Regions from separate parts of the Homo sapiens genome. Here region 1 is linked to region 2. Evidence: promoter capture Hi-C in human tissues and cell types (Jung and others, 2019). All regions are on one chromosome and are shown on one strand. The core of a region is centred on a gene start or on the middle of the fragment in contact, and the rest is flanking DNA. Distances in the headings are between cores, read along the strand shown.

Region 1 (5,046 bases), core at 1,991-4,490, 910 kb before region 2:
TGACATAAATAAACAAACAAATAACCTCAGGAGTCAGAGGAAAGCAGCATTTTCCTAACCTACGAATTCTCAAAAACCTTTGTCCATGAATTTGGAGATATGAGAATGGGGATCAGGATCCTGTAGCCAAAGCGGGAATCGAAATGTTTATAACCAAGCTCAGTAGGTAGGTATCATTGCACTGACTTGGTCTTCACCAAGAAAAAGGAAGATATGCTAGAAAAGCACTGGCCTATGGGAGGAACTGGGTGCTACTGGGGGAGAAAACTGGAAGAGGGCCAAGTCTCCCAAGAAGTGGTGGCAACCCAGGAGTGGGAATGTATCCACATGCCTCCACCAATCCGAGTTTGCTCTTTTCCTCACAGTGCAACTCTCTCTGCCCTCTACCCTGTATCTGGGTGGACTTCCCCGAAAATATGTAGCTGCCCAGCTCCACCTGCACTGGGGTCAGAAAGGATCCCCAGGGGGGTCAGAACACCAGATCAACAGTGAAGCCACATTTGCAGAGGTACCAGGGAACAAAGAGCTGGGACTCAGACAAAGTAACAGGGATGGGTGGTCCTGGGGAAAGGATCTGGACCTTAGGAAAAGTCATGCTGGGGGGATAAGGCCAATCTCTGAGGGACAGACTTAGTGCCTGCCGGGGACAGCGGGGGGATGGTGGCAGCTAGGATCAAGGCCTTGAAGGGGGTGCAGACATTCCATGATTCAATTCCCTCTTCCTTCCTTTAGCTCCACATTGTACATTATGACTCTGATTCCTATGACAGCTTGAGTGAGGCTGCTGAGAGGCCTCAGGGCCTGGCTGTCCTGGGCATCCTAATTGAGGTCAGTAGCCCCCAGTCCCTTCCAGGTTTCTCTCCACTTCCTCTGCAACCCTCAAACCTATTTCTGTTGCTGGCCTCCTTCCTATGGCAGGCAGCAGCCCACCCTGACCATTTATTCTGTACATAAATTTCTTATTCCAAACATGGACTCATTCCAAACTCTCTCCCTTTCCTTCTCTTCCAGGTGGGTGAGACTAAGAATATAGCTTATGAACACATTCTGAGTCACTTGCATGAAGTCAGGCATAAAGGTGAGCCTTAAAAATCTATAGCAGGAAGTAAGATTAGACTTTCAAAAACTATCCTTAAAAGCCTTGGGATGAAGCAATTACATAGAGCCAAGGAATTTTGCTTCTGGGAGCCCTATCTAGGTAAGCTAGGGCACACTGAAAGGAAGATGAGTCCCAGTCTGTTCTCCCCAGATCAGAAGACCTCAGTGCCTCCCTTCAACCTAAGAGAGCTGCTCCCCAAACAGCTGGGGCAGTACTTCCGCTACAATGGCTCGCTCACAACTCCCCCTTGCTACCAGAGTGTGCTCTGGACAGTTTTTTATAGAAGGTCCCAGATTTCAATGGAACAGGTAAGTGGTGGAGAAACGAGGTGAGGTGAGACACAGTTGTAACTTCAGACCCCTTCCCACTCCCCAAAGTAACACCTCTCCCACGCTTCTGCTCCTCAGCTGGAAAAGCTTCAGGGGACATTGTTCTCCACAGAAGAGGAGCCCTCTAAGCTTCTGGTACAGAACTACCGAGCCCTTCAGCCTCTCAATCAGCGCATGGTCTTTGCTTCTTTCATCCAAGGTGATTCTGCACGGCTCAGAAGAGATGGGAAACTGAGGGGGACACAATGGCAGGAACTAGGGAGCCAATGGGAAGAAAAGGCTAAAAGGGGAGGGGGTTTCTGGGACTTGCTTGGACTGGGAACCAACCCCCACCCCAGGGTGCCCCCGGGGGATTCTCCCAGGCACAGCAGCAGAGAGTGCTGCTCCCAGCTGGGATGGGGATCTGAAGTCCCACTGACCCATTTTCTTCTCTTACAGCAGGATCCTCGTATACCACAGGTAAGCCAGCCTTATAAGATAATGCGGGGAGGGGAGGTGTCCTCACCGAGTGGGGGAAAGGCTCAAAATCTATGTTAGTCCTAGGCTGACACCTTTTACCTTTATCTCCCCCAGGTGAAATGCTGAGTCTAGGTGTAGGAATCTTGGTTGGCTGTCTCTGCCTTCTCCTGGCTGTTTATTTCATTGCTAGAAAGATTCGGTGAGGCCCTACTTTCCATTCCTCCAGTCCCTTCTTCTTTTTTTTTTTTTTTTTGGTAGGTGGGAGACGGAGTCTTGCTCTGTTACTCAGTCTGGAGTGCAGTGGTGTGCAATCTCAGCTCACTGCAACCTCTGCCTTCTGGGTTCAAGCAATTCTCCTGCCTCAGCCTCCCGAGTAGCTGGGACTACAGGCACGCACCATCACACCCAGCTAATTTTTGTACTTTTAGTAGAGACAAGGTTTCACCATATTGGCCAGGCTGGTCTCAAACTCCTGACCTCAGGCAATTCGCCTGCCTCAGCCTCCCAAAGTACTGGGATTATAGGCATGAGCCACCCGCTTTTTGAGACAGGTTCTCACTGTTGTCGAGGCTGGAGTGCATGGCTTTATCACAGCTCACTGCAACCTCCACCTCCCGGGCTCAAGTGGTCCTCCCACCTCAGCCTCCTGAGTAGGTGGGACTACAGGCATGTGCCACCATGCCCAGATAATTTTTGTATTTTTAGCAGAGACGGGTTTTCACTACATTGCCCAGGCTGGTCTCCAACTCCTGACCTCAAGTGATCCGCCCGCCTCAGCCTCCCAAAGTGCTGGGATTATAGGTGTGAAACACCTTGCCCAGCCCTCTTTTCTGTTAAAAAGCATTCTCCTATTTCACCTCTAATCTGCTTCACTTAGATAGCAGTCATTCTCATGAGCCATTCCCCTTTCCAGGAAGAAGAGGCTGGAAAACCGAAAGAGTGTGGTCTTCACCTCAGCACAAGCCACGACTGAGGCATAAATTCCTTCTCAGATACCATGGATGTGGATGACTTCCCTTCATGCCTATCAGGAAGCCTCTAAAATGGGGTGTAGGATCTGGCCAGAAACACTGTAGGAGTAGTAAGCAGATGTCCTCCTTCCCCTGGACATCTCCTAGAGAGGAATGGACCCAGGCTGTCATTCCAGGAAGAACTGCAGAGCCTTCAGCCTCTCCAAACATGTAGGAGGAAATGAGGAAATCGCTGTGTTGTTAATGCAGAGAACAAACTCTGTTTAGTTGCAGGGGAAGTTTGGGATATACCCCAAAGTCCTCTACCCCCTCACTTTTATGGCCCTTTCCCTAGATATACTGCGGGATCTCTCCTTAGGATAAAGAGTTGCTGTTGAAGTTGTATATTTTTGATCAATATATTTGGAAATTAAAGTTTCTGACTTTAATTCTGGCCTATCCTTTGAGGCTCTTGAGGGTGGGCAAGTTCCTGAATCCCTCAGGTGGTAAAGATGGGCAAAGGATGGGGAAAAGAAGCATGGGTGATTAACTCCTTTTATCCCACCCCTGGAAGGAAAGATAAGCTTCTGGGAAGACACTTAACCCAAAGTTTCAGACATGTTAAACCACTAGCCCAGATTTCTGCCCTTGCACCAAGGCTATGCTTGGAAATCAGTGGTTGCCAGGTTAGGAAAGTGGCTGGATGAGAGATCTGAGGACAGAAATCTCAATTAACATGCTATCCCCTCCCTTAAAAGCCAAGTTCCCCCACAATTACAAATTCTTTTTTATTAGTCAAAATCACAATCACCTTGATTAAAAGGATGGGACACTCCACCCTCAGCAGAAAATGATACAGTTTATAGAAAACCTCCCCGCCCCTCCCACACCCCAATTAAAAACTACAAAAAAATCTCCCCTCCTTCCCTACGATGTCATGGTAGTCTGACTCCTCCAGTGGCACTGCAGCTCTGGAGTGGCCAGCTCACCACAGCACCCTCCACTTCACCTTGGGGAGAGGAGGGATGCTGGTGGTTAAGGAGGTTAAAACCATTAGTTCCAGTAATGCCAGTTCCCAAACATGCACTTCCTTCCTTTCCCCCAAGGTCTGGGACCAAGGAGAAAGGGACCGAAATGAGCCCAGCCATGAGGAGCAACTCGAGGAGAGAAAATATAGCCCAAGGAGGTTAGAAGAGTTCCAATATACCTCCTCCCTCCCCCCACCTCAAAAAAGAAAAAAAGGCAGTTTAGGGTATTTATCACACCAAAAATGGTTCCCCCTCAGGCCTGAGAAAAAGACCAAGATGTCCAGTCTTGAGGGAGTACTGAGAAACTCAGAGCTCATCTATCCTTGAGCCTCCATTAATTTCATCTCCAGGGCAATGGCTAAACTAGGTCCCTTTTCTTGGCAACCTGCACTGTCCAGAACTGGAGATGGAGAAATACAGGGCGAGGACATCAGGAGGGCACCCCAGGCCCAGGGGTCCCCCCTAGGTTCCCTCAGTCCTCGGGTGGGATGCGCAGGGCAGAATACACCATCACCCGACTGTCCTCCTGCCGTCGGCCTGCAGAGGGGAAGGGAGGTGAGTCTTGGGCAGGGTGAGAGCAGAGCACTGACACAGGGGGAGTCCTGGACACAACAAGGGGGTCCCCAGGTGGTGGGGATAAGTGCAGATTCAAACCCACCAGTCACTGACTGGCTGAACCCAGGCTGCTCCTGGTAAAGCTTAGAGACTAACGGTCACAAAAGGACAAAGCAAAACCCTGGAGGTAGTGGGGTAGACCGACGAGAAGGAGACAGAGAATGTGGGCAATGGACCCGGGCTGGGGCTGGGCTCAGTCATGGGCAGTGGACAGGCAGGTGGGATCTGTCAGGCGATCAGTCCAGGTAGTCAGTCCTTACACAAGAGGCTGCGCTGAATACTTCGGAGGGACCCTCCAGCTGTGATGAAGGCCCAGAGCCCCATGGAAACAGTGACTGCATAGATGGGCAGCAGGCTGGCCTCATACCAGGGGTTCAGGAATGTCTAGGAAGGAGGGTAAGAGTAGGAAAGAGATTAGATTCTCCCTCGACCTAATCCCCATATTCTCTCTGTACCTTTCTGACTCCCAGATATCTCTCTCAAATTCTCCAGTCTTTCCCTTCAGAGCACCAACATCTTGTGGTTAAGGGGACTTTTGATTTTCAGCTCCTCAGAAACTCAAAGGT
Region 2 (4,911 bases), core at 1,472-3,971:
GCCTGGCCCAATGATTCCACTTTTATTTGCTCTTACAATCCCTGTAAAATTGCTCTTGAGGTGTTATTAAATTTAAAAATGAATAAATATATAAACAAACAAGAAAAGCTTGAAACTACTGCTTGACGCTTTCTTAGACATCCACATTCTGGTTGAGGGCCTTCCTCACTAGTCCCATGTCATGGCTAGAATCCACCTGCCCCTGATCCTCTCACCCTCAACTTCCCACAGCTACCCACCTGCAATGTCACACATTTCAGCATCTGTGGCATGTGCCAGTGCCTCCTCCAGCTCAGGCTCCAGGGTGATCTGCTCCTCTGCTGGGATTTCCCTCTTGGGCTGAATATAGGGTTTCCCTGATGGGGAGATGAAGGATGGCTCAGGTAGAGGTAATTTCTCCCAAGATCCTGGCCTCCAGGTTTCCTTCCTCCTCCAGGAGGTAGAATGCTGCGTCACGAAGGGACACTGGAAAGCCTGAGTCCTCTACAAACTCAAGAGTCCTTAGCCCCCTGATCTCTCAAGAACTGAAGAGTGCGGGGCTGGGCGCTGTGGCTCACGCCTGTAATCCCAGCACTTGGGGAGGCCGAGGCGGGTGGATCATGAGGTCAGGAGATCGAGACCATCCTGGCTAACATGGTGAAACCCCATCTCTACTAAAAATACAAAAAATTAGCGGCCGGGCACGGTGGCTCATGCCTGTAATCCCAGCACTTTGGGAGGCTAAGGCGGGCAGATCACGAGGTCAGGAGATCGAGACCATCCTGGCTAACACAGTGAAACCCCATCTCTACTAAAAATACTAAAAAATTAGCCGGGCGTGGTGGTGGGCGCCTGTAGTCCCAGCTACTCGGGGGGCTGAGGCAGGAGAATGGCGTGAACCCGGGAGGTGGAGCTTGCAGTGAGCCGAGACTGCACCACTGCACTCCAGCCTGGGCAACAGAGTGAGACTCCGTCTCAAACAAAAAGAAAAAAAAAAGAACTGAAGAGTGCAAGCTCGCATTTAAGTGTCAGGGCATCTGAGTCCCTAGGCAACTAGGAGCTGGAAGGTGAGAGGGAAACTGGAGTGGGGACGAGTGAGAGACAGCACAGCCACTTGGGTTCTACGAGGCATGGATGTCAGGGTCCCCATACCCTTCTTCTCGCCTGTGAAGGGCACCAAGTCATCACGCTCTTTGACTTCTAGTGCCTGTTGCTCCAAGTACTGCAAAAGGGCCTCTCGGTCCAGTGGCCCCGTTGGGCTCTTCTTTGTCTGGTCACGTTGTCTTAGTCCAGCTGGCAGGAGCATGTTCTTAGGGATGAGTTTTGGGGAGCAAGTCAGACCTCCCCTCTGACCTAGGTACTGCTAGGGCTCCCTAAAACATCACCGGACACCTTTCCCCTGGCCTTCTTAGGACCCTAGGTCCTGTAGCAAACCCTATTCTCAGCCACCCAGAGCCCAACACCCTTCCCAAATGCCTGGGACTGCCTCTGGTTCCCTGTGCTGGAGCCCCTACCTCAGGATCCATCTCCTGTAGTTCGCAGTCCAGCTGCTCTAGCTCCTCGGGGCTCAAGGTCCTTAGGATCTCATCTTCATCTATGTCTCTGTATTTCTCCAGTTCCTTCTGATATGATGACATGGTGGCCCCCACCCCCTCCCCACTGTGTGGTACTCACAGAGCCTGGGCAACATGGGACAAAAGGATGGACAATGGTAAGATGGACAGGGACACAGCAGGGACACAAAGAGACCAGCCAGGGGGGCAGAACATTGGATTGGATTTCTTGGAGATTAGAAGTCTAGTTGAGGATGGGAAGTGGGGAAGATTAGGTTGTTTAGAGTTAGAACTAGAGTCTCCTTTCTGCTTCCCCAGCTTCCAGCCACTCTGGATGGGGATCCCAGACATCTAAGCTGGGTTTGTCTTCCCACGGTATGACAGAGAAATCCTGGCAGCACCCCTCCCCTATAACCTCACTTGTCAGTGCCTTCGCCCTAACACAGCTGCTGGAAGCCCTGCCAACACAGCTGGTCCTATGCCCAGTTCCTATTGAAAGGGGATGAGGGGTGGGGGAATAGAGAGCTTCAGGGAAATTCCTCCTCTCCTCCTCATAATCCAGGCTTTTTCCTAAACCGGATAAAAAAACCAAGGACAATGAGGTGTAAGGGGAAGAGAGAGTCTCTTACCCCATCCTCATTTCCCTTTTATTGTGGGGGATCAAGATTTCACTTTCTGTGTTTGCTAAAATTTGAAGTCTTAAGGGAAAGCAAGGGCTCGGAGCAGTTGGGGGACTTCCAGGTTGGGGGAAGGGTAGTAAGGCCTCTGTGAGTCCCCATAATCTGTCCCTTGCTTTGGACAGGAAGGTGACACCAGACCAATGGGTGTAAATAGGGTAAAGTTTCTTTAAAAACAGTGGGAATATTAAACTCGCACAATTTTGTACAATATAAGATACGCATAAGGAGCTATGCATACACACCATGCTGAATATGAAAGATCCAGAAAGTATGTGAGACACATCGACAATGTAAACTATACACAGTTAAGGGGTAGGACGGCACAGTGGCAGAAATATACACTGAGTGACAGAGACAGGGACACACTCCACATCATTCCCCATAGGAGCCACTCTTCTCCTCCCATCTCCCACCGGGCTCTCATCCATAAGCCCCCTGTCTTCCCCACCTACCAGTCCTGGTGGTCACCTCCCTTCTCACCTCCCCTGTGTCAGTAGGTCTGTCTGTTCTACTAGAGCACTGTCCCAGCAGCAGGAGGAGCCCGGTGCCGGGGGAGAGGGTGGGGGAACAGTGAGCTCAGCATTTTATTATTTTAGCTCTGGCCAGGTGGGGGGTAGTGGGAGATCACATATACACAGCCCCCATACCCTGCCCAGCCCTGAGAGCCTCTAGTGGTCATTAACAGCCATGGCATCTCTTCCACTTCCCTTCATACAAGCCCCAGTCTGAGACATATGAGTTCGACTAGAATCAGCCAGTTCCTCCTTATTTGGTGCCTGCTGTATTCAAAACAGTGAGTGTAAAGTGATAGGAAGGTCAATACAAGGATGTGTTTTGGTGTGCAATTTTCAGATGTTTATAATTTAGTTGGAGGAATGAATACAATTTAGAAAGGACAGCTCATAATAAATGCTATCGAATAAAGACCCAAATATATGCAGGTATTCAAATACTTCTTGCTCCCAACCCTAGACTGGACACCAGACAAAAGGGATCTTTCTATTTTATTAGATTAAAAAACACAACGAAACCTGTAAGAACTAGGGGAAAAGGAAAAAGAAACAGATTAGGCAAAGATCAGAGATGACAAAGGGGAGAAGCAGGGAGAAGAAACGGAACAGCAAGAGCCCCAATCAGGGCAGGAAAGAAGTTTCTGAGGACTAGACATCTCTTCATTTAATGACAATTTTCTGGCGCAAGGCTCGGGGCCCAGAGCCAGGGAGGGGCTCAGGAGGTGGCGGGCCGGGGCCCAGGGCTGAGGCAGTGGGCGGCAGTCCATGGGCAGTAATGTACTTCTTGTAAGCCTCACGAATGATCTTGAAGGCTCGAGCAGTGGCATAGGGTATGTCTGTAACAGGGTCCCGGTATAGGGCTGGACGATGGGTCACTGGACAGACCTCACGAACAGGGACTTTTGGGGGCCGCCCTTGGGGGAACCATTCCTCGAAAGTTGCATCATCACTAAAAGTGATGAAGGTACGTGAGCAGCGAGCAGGGGGGTTGACGGGTCCAGTCCCAGCATGAGGAGTCAATGCAGACACCGAGGGAGCAGGATCAAGTCTGAGGACAAAAGACAAGGAAAAACACAAAGAGCTGAGGAGAGAAGACAACAGATACAGAAAGAAGGAAATCAGGCTGGGTGCAGTGGCTCACACCTGTAATTCCAGCACTTTGGGAGGCTGAGGCAGGCAGATGACGAGGTCAGGAGTTCGAGACCAGCCTGACTAACAAGGTGAAACCCTGTCTCTACTAAAAATACAAAAATTAGCCGGGCGTGGTGGCGGATGCCTGTAATCACAGCTACTCAGGAGGTTGAGGCAGGAGAATCACTTGAAGCCAGGAGGCGGAGGTTGCATGGAACCAAGATCGTGCCATTACACTCCAGCCTGGGTGACAGAGCAGCGAGACTCCATCTCAAAAAAAAAAAAAAAAGAAAAGAAAGAAAGAAGGAAATCAGAGAGATGAGGAAAGAGAAAAAGGAGGCAGGGTGTTGGGAACATTCTGAGGAACGTACTAAGTGACTGATGGGAAAAGAAAGCTAGGCTAGAAGGAAAAACAGGAAAGAGAAGAACAGAGAAGCTAAAAGAAAAAGGAATAAGAAAGAAATAAGCTGGGCTGGGCGCGGTGGCTCACACCTGTAATCCCAGTATTTTAGGAAGATGAAGCGGGACGATTACTTTAACCCAGGAGTCTGGGCAACACAGCGAAACCGTCTCTACAAAAAATACAAAAATTAGCATGTGTGGCTGTACTCCCAGCTACTTGGGAGGCTAAGGTGGGAGGATCGCCTGAGCACAGGAGGTGGAGGTTGCAGTGAGCCGAGACTGCACCACTGCATTCCAGCCTAGGTGACAGAGCAGCATCATGTCTCAAAAAAAAAAAAAGAAAAAGAAATTGAGCTGAAGGGAGTTAGGAATCTGAAAGAAATCTCCAAGTGTTAAGGAGAGCTGTGTGAGAAAAGCAAGCAAAATGGGGCCAAGAGAACATGAGCTGAACACACAATCTCTTTTCCTCTTGAGATTCACTCACCCTTCTATGTCAACGTTCTCTTCCTTGGGGCCTGGCTCCCCAACAAGTGGCACTGTCACTGAATGATAGGTGATTATGGGCCCGGGGCACTTCCGCTTCTTATGAACCTGCTTCTTTTTATCAGCCTCGAGCCGCTCATATGTCTCTTTAGGGTCAAAGGAAGAAATGAG

The links. The method cuts DNA at HindIII sites, captures the fragments that hold promoters and counts their contacts. A contact is called where the count stands out against the background at its distance.
Region 1: a contact is called between a fragment that was not itself captured here and the fragment with the promoter of TMOD4 in region 2, in 1 of the 25 tissues and cell types used here (spleen).

What each region holds. Positions count from the first base shown.
Region 1 is chr1:150,261,793-150,266,838 of GRCh38, forward strand. CA14 (carbonic anhydrase 14) reads left to right here. Exons shown (of 11, transcript NM_012113.3): 4 at 366-508; 5 at 733-828; 6 at 1,012-1,078; 7 at 1,250-1,407; 8 at 1,507-1,627; 9 at 1,867-1,887; 10 at 2,002-2,086; 11 at 2,801-3,286. The coding sequence ends at 2,867. APH1A (aph-1A gamma-secretase subunit) reads right to left here. Exons shown (of 7, transcript NM_001077628.3): 6 at 4,741-4,864; 7 at 3,612-4,402. The coding sequence ends at 4,338. It overlaps SNORD13C (small nucleolar RNA, C/D box 13C), which reads left to right; the gene lies at 1-5. Among named protein-coding and RNA genes, the nearest start is that of SNORD13C, 2.6 kb to the left of the region's middle. The HindIII fragment of the contact is 1,504 bases long and covers 2,489-3,992 here.
Region 2 is chr1:151,173,260-151,178,170 of GRCh38, forward strand. TMOD4 (tropomodulin 4) reads right to left here and starts at 2,722. Exons shown (of 10, transcript NM_013353.3): 1 at 2,665-2,722; 2 at 1,494-1,658; 3 at 1,132-1,288; 4 at 240-356. The coding sequence starts at 1,616. It overlaps VPS72 (vacuolar protein sorting 72 homolog), which reads right to left. Exons shown (of 6, transcript NM_005997.3): 5 at 4,742-4,886; 6 at 3,045-3,772. The coding sequence ends at 3,385. The HindIII fragment of the contact is 10,118 bases long and covers 1-4,911 here.